3 separate regions of the Homo sapiens genome follow, and regions 1 and 2 are each linked to region 3. Evidence: promoter capture Hi-C in 16 types of primary human blood cells and fetal thymus (Javierre and others, 2016). All regions are on one chromosome and are shown on one strand. The core of a region is centred on a gene start or on the middle of the fragment in contact, and the rest is flanking DNA. Distances in the headings are between cores, read along the strand shown. Region 1 overlaps MTAP (methylthioadenosine phosphorylase). Region 2 has its middle 3.9 kb from the start of MTAP. Region 3 holds the start of DMRTA1 (DMRT like family A1).

Region 1 (3,520 bases), core at 901-3,400, 610 kb after region 3:
GGCCACCAGGCTCTGGGCTGTTGCTGGGGGATGTCTGCAATGAGTACTGCGATGTGATCCATCTTCAGGTCTCCAAGCTGTGGCTACTAGCACCTGCTCTGGTAGATGTGGCAGGGAAGTGAAGTAAACTCTGCAAGAGTCATTGGTTGTAGATATGTTTAATGTGCTGGCTCTCTTGAATGCTGCTTATGCTAGCAGTGAAGTTGTCATGTGGACATATTCAGGATCTCTGGTTAGCCAGGATGTTGCAGGCAGTGAAATTAGGTGTTGTCTTTTCCGTCCTGGGATCAGGGTTATTGTTTTATGAGTTGCTGTAATGGCCTCAGTTGACTGGCCTCCAGCCAGGAGGTGGCACTTTCAAGAGAGCACCAGCTGCAGAAGGAGTAGGGGGCTCTAAGCTTGCCCTAAGATGCCCAAGGTAACTATTTTGGTTTCCCAGGCAATAGGCAGGGCAATAAATATTTTGTGTTTGGCTACCAGGGTGGGTAGGGAAATACCATCAGGTTGGGGCAGGGTTAGGTGGTTCTGGGCTCAGACTCTTCTTGGGCAGGGCTTGCTGCAGACACTGTGGGAAATTGGGGGATGGGGGTGGTTTGTCAGGCCACTGGGTTTATGTTCCAGAGGAGATCTTGACTGCCTCTGCTGTATCATAAACTTTACCAGGGTAGTGGGGGAGAGCCAGCAGCAAGAGGCCTCATCCAGCTACTATGCAGTTGGTGAGGCTAGTCTCACTCCTGCAGTGCCCTGCTCAGACCTTGCCCCAGGCTGTGAGCTACCCCACTGGGAAAGCAAGCATGGCCTTTGGACCTCACCCCTTCCCACCTGCCCACTCCATCAGCAGCAGCTCCTGTACTCACTTGTATCTGCTGCGGCTCCCATTAGTCCCTTGGACTCTGCCTGAGAAAATTTGTGACCAGCTGAAACCACTACTGATTTCATTTGGGAGCTTCCTTCGCCCTGCCATCACTCTCCAATTCCACTGGCTGCCTTACCTGAGGGCCACTGTGAGATATAGTCAGGGCTGGCTTCCCTGGACTCAAGCTGGAGACTGGGAGTACATCCAAAGCACTTCCTGTTGCTACTTCTACTTTCATATTTCACATAACCCCCTAAATCCGTTTCACCTCTAGGTAAGGTTAAATTCTTCCTCCATGATCTGGATTTTTAGATTTCCCCAGTGGGGATGTGTATTCAGAGGTAGGTTCTCCCCGACTCACACTTTGGGAACTCAGTTTCTTGCCTGTTTTGCAGAATTTGCAGTGGTGTGCCACTTCTTTCAAAGGATCTTTGAATTCTTTTGGTTTTCCCGGTAAGTTCCTACAGTGGTTCTTGGAACAAAAGATCATAGTGTCTCCATATGCTATTCTGTCCGTCCTTGTGGAAGCTGCACGTTAGCCCTGTCTTTTCTTTACTTTTTTTTTTTTTTGACATGGAGTCTCTGTCACCCAGGCTGGAGTGCAGTGGCACAATCTTGGCTCACTGCAAGCTCTGCCTCCCAGGTTCAAGCGATTCTCCTGCCTCAGCCTCCCAAGTAGCTGGGACTATAGGTGCCTGCCACCATGCCTGGCTAACTTTTCGTATTTTTAGTAGAGACAGGGTTTCACCATGTTAGCCAGAATGTTCTTGATCTCCTGACCTCATGATCCGCCTGCCTTGGCCTTCCAAAGTGCTGGGATTACAGGCGTGAGCCACCGTGGTGGCCAGCCCTGTCTCTTATCTGCCATCTTCCCTGTTTCCTGTTACCAGCTTTTTTTGTTAACTTTCCAAAAATATTTTATTTGTATATAAATATTTACATACTTACTTCTTTGTATATATACATACTTTAACATAAATGGTAGAATATGGTACAACCACTGAGTATCTTGCTTGCCACTTGACAATTCATCATGACAGTCCTATTCCATCAGTACATGAAAGATCATGTGGATGTTAAAAGTGAAAATTACCAAGTGGCAGCACTATTTACTCTTCATGTTTTTGGATAATATTTAAAAATTTCTTTCTGAATGCTTATTTTGCCATTTTCTTAAATTGCCTTTCCCAGTATTCTCTCAGTCTTTATGAAGCTGAATTAATTTGGCTTCAAGGGAGGCTAACTTGGATTACTGGAAATTATCACCACAGACCCACATTTACATGTGCTCTATACAGCTCCATTGTGCTTTCCCCATCTACCTCTACTCCTAGTTCCCCAAGTCACTGTATTTTGCCTGAGAACTGACCTCAGATTCATACGAGCATGCATATTCTCTCCTTAGACTATTTCTTCCCAAGCTGCCCCCATTTTGAAGTGGACAAGAATTTTATCCATACTTCATTTCCCCCAGGATAGCAAATCTATTATGTGGACAGATCTGTGCTTCAGAGGAAGACTAGCAGCATTCTGATACATTCTGTGGATAACTATCCAGAAACATGCTATACATACATATACAAACTTCGCCTGCCACTTTTTTAAAAAAAAAAAAAAACCAAGTAAAAGACGTACTTTCCTAGAAGTCAGAGAAAATCAATGCGCAGTGGTATCTCCGAAATGGCTTCCCTCAGTACTCGGTTTTAGATTCCAAATTCTTGTTTGAGACTAGAAATATTTCTCCCAACCCTGTGTCCTCAGTTTAGGTGCCCTTGCTGTTAACTATAAGGAAATGGGTTTTCTGTGATTATGTAGGATAAAACATAAATGCTAAAAGAAATCATCTACTCTCTATATGCAGGTGTTAACATTATCTGAATAACTAACGTGTTTAGGTATTTATATTCTCTAAGTTAACTCATAAGGGAGATTTTATGAAGCAGTTAATCTCTAACGATACTTCTGATCTTTTGAGTTGCACCTGACTTTCAAACCTGGGATTATAAGAGAAGTAGCACATGTGGACCAAGCCATAGGCTTCTTAGTCATGGTAGCCATTTTTGTTGCTTGGGAACTAAAACTGTGATTCCACCCCTTATACCACCACTGGCCCTTGTGGGGCTGTCCCCATAGTTCTGTGATTTGGCTATAATGGTAGACAGAAGGCTGGGCAGTAATGGCCAAACTCAGGTCAAAGGCAACAGCTGCCAATCTGACCATTTTTAGAAGATCAATAATAGTAATTTAATTCACAAAAGCAGTTACCAGCCATTGGATGTTCCATAACTGACAGGCATGGTTCAGAGACTTCATTAAGTATTAACTCTCTCATCCCTCACACAGTCTTATAAGGTACATGCTATAATTATCTTCATTTTAGAAGTAAGATAACTGAAACCCACATATGTCAAATAATTTGTCCTCTTGGACACAGCTACTTTGTTGAAGAGCAGAGATTTGATCCTAAGTAATCTGGCTCCAGACTGCATACTCTTGAGTAATGTGATATTCTATGTTAAATCATTTTATCTAGATAGCAAAATCAAAACTTATTAAAAAGGTAGGTTGCAACTTTGAGTGGTTCAGCTTAAAATGACTGAGAGTAACAGAGGAACAGGAAATTATTAGCAACAGGAAATAACTCTTCATAAAACTTTGCATAAT
Region 2 (3,500 bases), core at 461-2,960, 650 kb after region 3:
TAAATCCCCCTCTGTTAACCTGTACCCTTGCTTTTCTAAAGATAATTATCAAGAACTAGGTCACCTTACAACAATTCTGATTATGAAACAGTATAAGGATTCCAACAGCTTCTCCCTTTTTGATAATCTCTCATAAATGTCTTCCCAACTTCTAGGTCCTAGCCAACAAAGTACTGAAATGGTTATCACCAGTAGCTGACTATGTTGGGTCTTGAGCAGTGGTTCTTCAGTGTCCTACAGTTCCCTTTTACTAAACATGTTATTTTTGAAGTCGTCTCCAAACCATTCCAGAATCATCAAATCTTCAGGAGGAAGTATTCACACAAATGCATGAAATGTATCACCTCAGCCAACCATATCAGCTTTCCCACTGAATTGTTATATTTCTGCCCCTGACCAGTATGTCTGTCCTGGATGGGTACTACAAAATGGGCCCAAGCTGGCTGGTAACCCATCCTCATCTGAAGGTATTAAAGCTGGCAAGTTGTCATGGCCTAAGAAACTCACATAACTCCCCACTACCTTGTAGATATTTGGGCCAAAATAAAAATTCTAAATAACATGGAGGTGTGCTTAGAGATCCCCAATGGTGTGTGAATCACATCTTTTTACAATACACCTGTATCACAGCCACAATGAGTAGGGACATTTTGGCCACTACTTTTGACAATGGATTAGATTCCCACATTGGAAGCTTTGTGAAAAAGCTAAAGTTCTATTAGCAAGCAGCCACTCTAGATTTAGCAGAACATTGTTGAAAAAATATCTGGGGGAACAATAAGTAAACTAATTATAATAATGACAGTAATACATTTTAAAAATTATTGCATCTTCAGATTCTCAGCCAGGCAAGCCTATGCCAGCATGAAGAAGCCAAAGATGTCTGAACTGGTATAAATTCAGGTTCAAAATCCACAACATCATCGTTGTGCACAGTGTGGTCATTGGGAAGAAAAAAGTTAAACTCAGAGACTCAATGCCCTTAATAAAATTGTATCCAAAGAAACTTCTCCACAGGCAATTATCAGAATAATCAACTTCTCTTTATCCTGCCCAAGAAGGAAAAAAAATGTACTGAAAAGAAAATAGTGGCTAGTGTTTATTAAGAAGCAAAAGATATGCAAGTATGTACCAGGCCAGTCCTAAGGTACCCTTCTGAAAAAACATTGAATATAATTGGATAAATGTATAAGAGATTTGTCTGCAATCCAAGTTCTCTTAACACTCTTGATTGTAAATAACTGAACAAATTATTGATCTAAAAAATACAGCTATGTGTCTTTACCCTGACTCTGCAGTATAGACCATGATACAACATAAACATTAACATTTTAGTAACTAGAGACTTAGATATTTTTGTCATAGAAGGCCTAATTGAACCTTTCTAAATTTCTTATAGGTTAGTATGTGACTATTACTCTAAAACTTTAAGGAAATAAGAACAAAAAACAAAGAGAAGTGTTCCATTCTCCCATTATCATAGTGATAAAACAAAATAAGTAGTATGTCACAAGTGAAGAAAATATTACTGAAATCTAATATTAAAAATGCATTTATTGCAGGTACTTTATAGAGGGAATTGCAAGTGATATACTAGGTTTCTCAAAAAATATTTACATCACATTTTAGGTGGCAATTCCTTATAATGACCTTTAATGAAAGTGGAGAGTCCAGTTATAAAGTGTAACCTGGCATCTGTGTTTTTGGTTGAGGGAAGAACCCCATGCTTTAAAATGAGTTAAGTAGGGTCAGTTTTGACAGTCTGCTTTAAAGTTGGTATGCTCCAGATAGTTGGAATTAGCCATATGTTTCTTGTTGCAATAGAATCAAGTTCTCCTTCAGTTTTCTTTATTCGTTCCTTCTATTCAAAGTCCCTTTTACCCTAGAAATATCCTTCATTGCAAATCACCTTGTCTTGTCTTCAAAGTTCACTTCAAATTGTATCTCCCCTATCATTTCTGAAACTCTACTGAAGATGACTTAAGTTGCATATAATTTGGATTTTTTGAAGTAAAATCTCACCATTTTTTCACTTTTCTTAGATTAATGCTGCACATTAAAAGCATATTCAGGTTAACAGAATGGCCATCTACCCTGGACTCCCAGGATCTTCACATACCTATTATAAATAATAATAGGTATTATTATTTCTGTTATAGGATAAGCAAAGTGTAAGATTAAGCCCTGAACCCTATACCTCCCTCAGTGAAAGAGAGAGTATGTTCAATCTTGATCTGAAGAGACATGATTCTCAGCTTCTGTGCTTTGTATAGAAAAGGGCCAAAAAGTAATAGATACCCAGATGTATTTTAATATCACAGATGCAACATAATCTCTGCTTAGCGTGTCAGGATCTAAAGCTATGATGAAAGACCCATATAATGAGCTCTTATGTGACCCACTGCTCTTTATTCCACTTTAAAAACTTAAGGCAGGAAATAAGTCTAAAAGCATTGCTTTTCTTCTCTGGCAAATCCATATGTTGTCTGTACATACAATCCTAAAAACAAATTGGGAACAAAGTCATATTTGTCTTCTGAGCATCTTCAAGAGCAACAACAAAACAGCTAATATTTATTAAGAGCCACATATTCTTCATTTAATCCTCACAGATATTAATGTCATTGCTATTAATGTAATTTCCATTTTACAGAGGAGGAGAGAGAGAGAAGTTGAATTGCTGTAACTTCATCTTTTCTGCTTATTTGCCTCTCCCCAAAGCTTCCTTGTCCGTTTGGAATCTTCAGGACTTCCCTCTCTCTAGCCCATCAAAATGTCAATCAAACCTATCAAACCTGTTAAGTTGCCAAAATCACCTTAAAATGTTACCTCACCCAGGGGTTTATGAATTTTACAGGTATTAAGCCTTAAATTGAGATAATTAAATTCTAGGTAGGATGTGATGTTTGAGAAAGGACAAGTGTTGGTGTTATTATCACTATCATTGCATGAGGAACATGAGGCTCAGAGCATTTAAGAAGTCTTCTCAAATTTATATAACTAAAGTAATTGAGATTCAGTCCTGAATCTGTCCTAATTGCAAAGTCTAAACTCTTGATTAATTATTATTTTTTCCACTGTTGAGATTCAGATAACAACACCCCAAAAAGGAAGTCCTCAGAAGCAGCCTCAAAAGCGAAAGTTTTTCTCTGACCTTCTCCTGCCTGTCTTTCACGCCCATTATCCCCCTGATGCTACCATAGAAACTAGAATCCTTCTTCCCCAAGGTGGATAATAGAAACCAGAAGATCTTTTCCCTAAAGCCAGCCGTAAAACCTAAACATATTTCTCTAACCTTCCCTCTGCCTTTCTGTGTGAAGGGTAAGAACCAAAAGATATGCGAATATGGCCATGAAGAAATTGTCTGACCTATCTTGTTTGACTGTGGGTTATAATACCCCCATTCCAGAGAGAGACCTGACTCATACCCATAAGGAAGGAATCCTACACAGAGAGGCCAAGAAGAATCTAGACAGACAGCTTTGCTGGGTTTCCCCACT
Region 3 (3,459 bases), core at 690-3,189:
AACTTCAAGCAGCCATTGAGCGAAAAAATCTGTTGAGATCTGCAATTTTCATAATTCAAGGAAGGTTTCTAATTAATAGTTTACTGTATAGCTATCATACAATTTCATATAATACAGCTTTATAAGTTTTGTATAAGTTTTTGACTTATACAAAAAAAAAATCACAATGATATTTTCACTGCTTAGTAGGCCCTGTGGAGGGCTATGAAGTTCACTAAAATATATCTCCTAACGCAGGAAATGAAGGCAACTGACTCGCAGTCAAAAAATAAGAGAAAAATAATGAAAACTCCTTGGATAAAAAACCTCTAATATTGAACTTTGAAATTCTTACCTATGGTTTTACAAATTACATTTTGCGAAAACAATTTAGAGTGAAGAAACAAAGAAAGACGATGGTTTGGTAGATTTCAGTCTCTTCCCCACATCAAGCTTGCAACAAATGTTTGCCCCAACATGTAGTAAAGAACTGCATCCCCAACTATCAGAGTTTCCCACGCAAAATCAGCTCTGGTTTTACAGCTGAAAACAGTCCAGAGCAGGGAGGATCACCTGAGCCTGGGGAGGTTGAGGCTGCAGTGAGCTGTAATGGCGCCACTGCACTCCAGCCTGGGCAACAGAGTGAGATCCTGTCTGGAAAGAGTACAGAGCAGACTCAAACACAGCACCTCTTACGAAGCTTTTCGCTCAATGCCTGCTTGAAGTTCTACTCACACAGTGAAAGTCAAATCAACTTCCGAGTAAATAACTCTACTCCTAGGGTGAATTGCTCATTTGTTACCACCCATGCTTCATTTTTTCATTATCTCATCCTATCACCTGAGGGAACAACAGTAAATTCCTCCAAAGTGAAGGCGATGGGGTCTCTCACACTCTCATTAATGTCCATATTGCTGAGCAGTTCCCCAAAACTTAAAGTGTTTCTTTTAAACAACTATTCCTGCCCGCCTATGGACACGGTGGCTTGTTTCAGAGTTTCTTTCCAGAACAACCATTCCTTGAGCAAAGAGTAAATCAAAGACCAACTCACCTTGTTTTTCCTCAGGATAATCTTGCTGGAAAACTTCGAAAGCGGGGGTCGCGGAACCACTGGCCTGTCTCAAGGCACCCAGTCCCAGCGCAGCCCCCGCCGCAGGGCCGCCCGTGGACTGTGGATTCTCGGCTCTGCCGCCGCCCCCGGATGCCCGACCACCGGGGGGCCAGGAGAGCCCCGAGCACAGGAGCCTCTGTAGCCCCCGGGCTTCGCTCTCCTCCTGCGCCTGCTGCCTGCGCAGCGCCACCTGGGCGGCCATGACGCGCTGGCGCTCGGCGATCAGGGTGCACTTGGCACACGCGCAGTCCCGCCAGCGGCAGAAGCGCTTGTGGCCCTTGAGCGCTGACACCACACCATGGTTACGACAGCGGGCGCACTTGGGCGTCCGCGGGTAGCCGCAGCCCACCGCGCCTACCCCGCTCTCCAGCCCGGGAGCCGGCGGGCAGCCTCCGCTTCCCGAGGTGGCGGCAGCGGCGGCGGCGGCCGCGGCCGCTGCTCGCAGAAAGAGGCTGGGCGGCCGCAGGAACGCTGGGGGAACCTGCATCCCCGATGGTACCGGCAACGCCGGGGACGGGGGCGGAGGGGCAGCCACCACTAGCCCAGGGGCCAAGTGAGGTCGGCCGCTAACGCCTCGGTCTCTGCTGCCACACTGTGACCGCTCCATTCCCGAGAAATTTCTGGCCGGGAGTCCCAAGTGGAAAGTGCGCTGACCGCAGCTAACCCTGCTGGGAGGCTGGGGAAGCCGGGGCAGGACGCGCCGTGGTCCTACTGAGCTCCACCCGCGCACGGACAAAAGTTTTACACTCTTTCCACTCGGAAGGAGTTGGGACGACCGCGTCCTGGAGCTGGAGACGCTGAGAGGTGCAGCTGTCCCGTGAGCCTGGCAGAGACCCCGGGCGCTAAGTTAATGCCTTTGTGCCTCCAGCCAAGAAGGCAAGGCTAGAGAGGCTACCCCGCCCACCCAGGCTCCCGGCCCAGCGCGGAAGCCGGGGGAGGGCCCGGGGCGGGGAGTGGGGACCTTCTGGGAGGAGGGCGGCGGGGAATCCGTCCAATGGGCTGCAAATGTCTCCTCCCCCAAAAAAAGCCCGTTTCTACTTGCTTCCCTAGGAGTTCTCGACGTCTATTTTTGTAAACTAGCCTTTGCAGCCTCCCCTTTTACTGCCCTTTTGAAATTAAGCAGAGTTTGAATTTCTCCTTTTCCCACTTCCACGCTTCTCCTAAGAAAGTCTGAAGATTTGGATTTTGAGTTCTCCTTTCGGGTTCCCAGATGAAGTCTTCATGTCTGCAGCAGTTTGGCCAATGTTAGTGGGATCCCAGCTTGATAGACTACGAATTTGTTACCCACCAGAAAGATGCCTTATTTTAAATGGGTCTTAGGACAGCATCAAAACAATGGATAAATAACTAAGGGAAGTGATTCACATTCAGATTCTTTTCATGCATTCTATTTATTTACACATGCGAATTTGGGTTGTGTGTACTCTATTTTAAAATACTGCTACTTTAAAAAAGTTATCAAACTCTTCTCTGCGCCTATTTATAGGCAGCGATTGTGTTAAAGCTGTTTCAAAAATACTTATGTCTATTGTAAAGTATTGGGGAAAGTCGTTTAGATCATTATTTAAATATGCTGTCATGAATGCATTCTTCACATATGAATTTAATGCCTTTAATTATAAGAAAAGACCATAAGGCGTTTAAGTCAAAAGAGCATCTGAGATAGAAAATTCATGAATGTTTATTCTTAATGGAAGGTAGCGTCAGCACTCTGCCAGCTCTTCAAGATGGTATCCAACTACCTTGGACAAGTTATTCATTTTCCATCCCTAAGATAGCAATTAATAATGATATTTTTACCATTCCACCTGTTCACATTCAGAGCAGATATTGCTGATCTATCTGGCCTTTCTCCTACCAACCTACTCAACACCATCACCACCACTACCATCCTCTCATACAAACATCCTATCGTAGAAGTTTTCCACCCTTCCTAAGAACTGGAACTACCTAGGGAACTTTTAAAAGAGATGGACACTCCAATCTACGTAATGTATTCTGATTCTTTTTGTCTGTGTCTTAAACTCTGAAGGTGAAAATTACATACAATGTTTAGAACTACCACTCAAGGAATTCCTAACCTCTGGGGGTTCTATGATATCCAACCTTTCTCACAACTCTTTATCTTTGTTCAAGCTACTCCTGCCTAAAATGTACTGATGCCCTAACTGTGGACTCACATCCGTCCTTTGAGAGATGAGTTTTTAGTTCTAAATGGATCATTAAAATACAATGAATTACCTAACGAGAAAGCAATTTTCTTTTCTATTCTTTTTAGGAGCTTCAGGTTACATAATGGGAATGTTCAGCTTAATGCAAATATGTCTTTTAAATTTTTAAAATACCTTTTAATTGTGTTTTTCAATAAC

Evidence for each region. Contacts are between HindIII fragments. The CHiCAGO score rates a contact against its expected background, and 5 or more counts as called.
Region 1: a fragment that was not itself captured here is called in contact with the fragment with the promoter of DMRTA1 in region 3 in 1 of 17 cell types (total B cells); the score reaches 6.2 in total B cells.
Region 2: a contact is called between a fragment that was not itself captured here and the fragment with the promoter of DMRTA1 in region 3, in 2 of 17 cell types (total B cells and M0 macrophages). The highest score is 6.2, in total B cells.

The regions. Positions count from the first base shown.
Region 1 is chr9:21,838,128-21,841,647 of GRCh38, reverse strand. The region is part of intron 5 of MTAP (methylthioadenosine phosphorylase); the gene reads right to left. Among named protein-coding and RNA genes, the nearest start is that of MTAP, 37 kb to the right of the region's middle. The HindIII fragment of the contact is 3,499 bases long and covers 401-3,520 here.
Region 2 is chr9:21,796,956-21,800,455 of GRCh38, reverse strand. No RefSeq gene overlaps it. Among named protein-coding and RNA genes, the nearest start is that of MTAP, 3.9 kb to the left of the region's middle. The HindIII fragment of the contact is 2,027 bases long and covers 697-2,723 here.
Region 3 is chr9:22,445,304-22,448,762 of GRCh38, reverse strand. DMRTA1 (DMRT like family A1) reads right to left here and starts at 1,939. Exons shown (of 2, transcript NM_022160.3): 1 at 1,031-1,939. The coding sequence starts at 1,697. RefSeq lists an enhancer at 1,264-1,763. The HindIII fragment of the contact is 6,499 bases long and covers 682-3,459 here.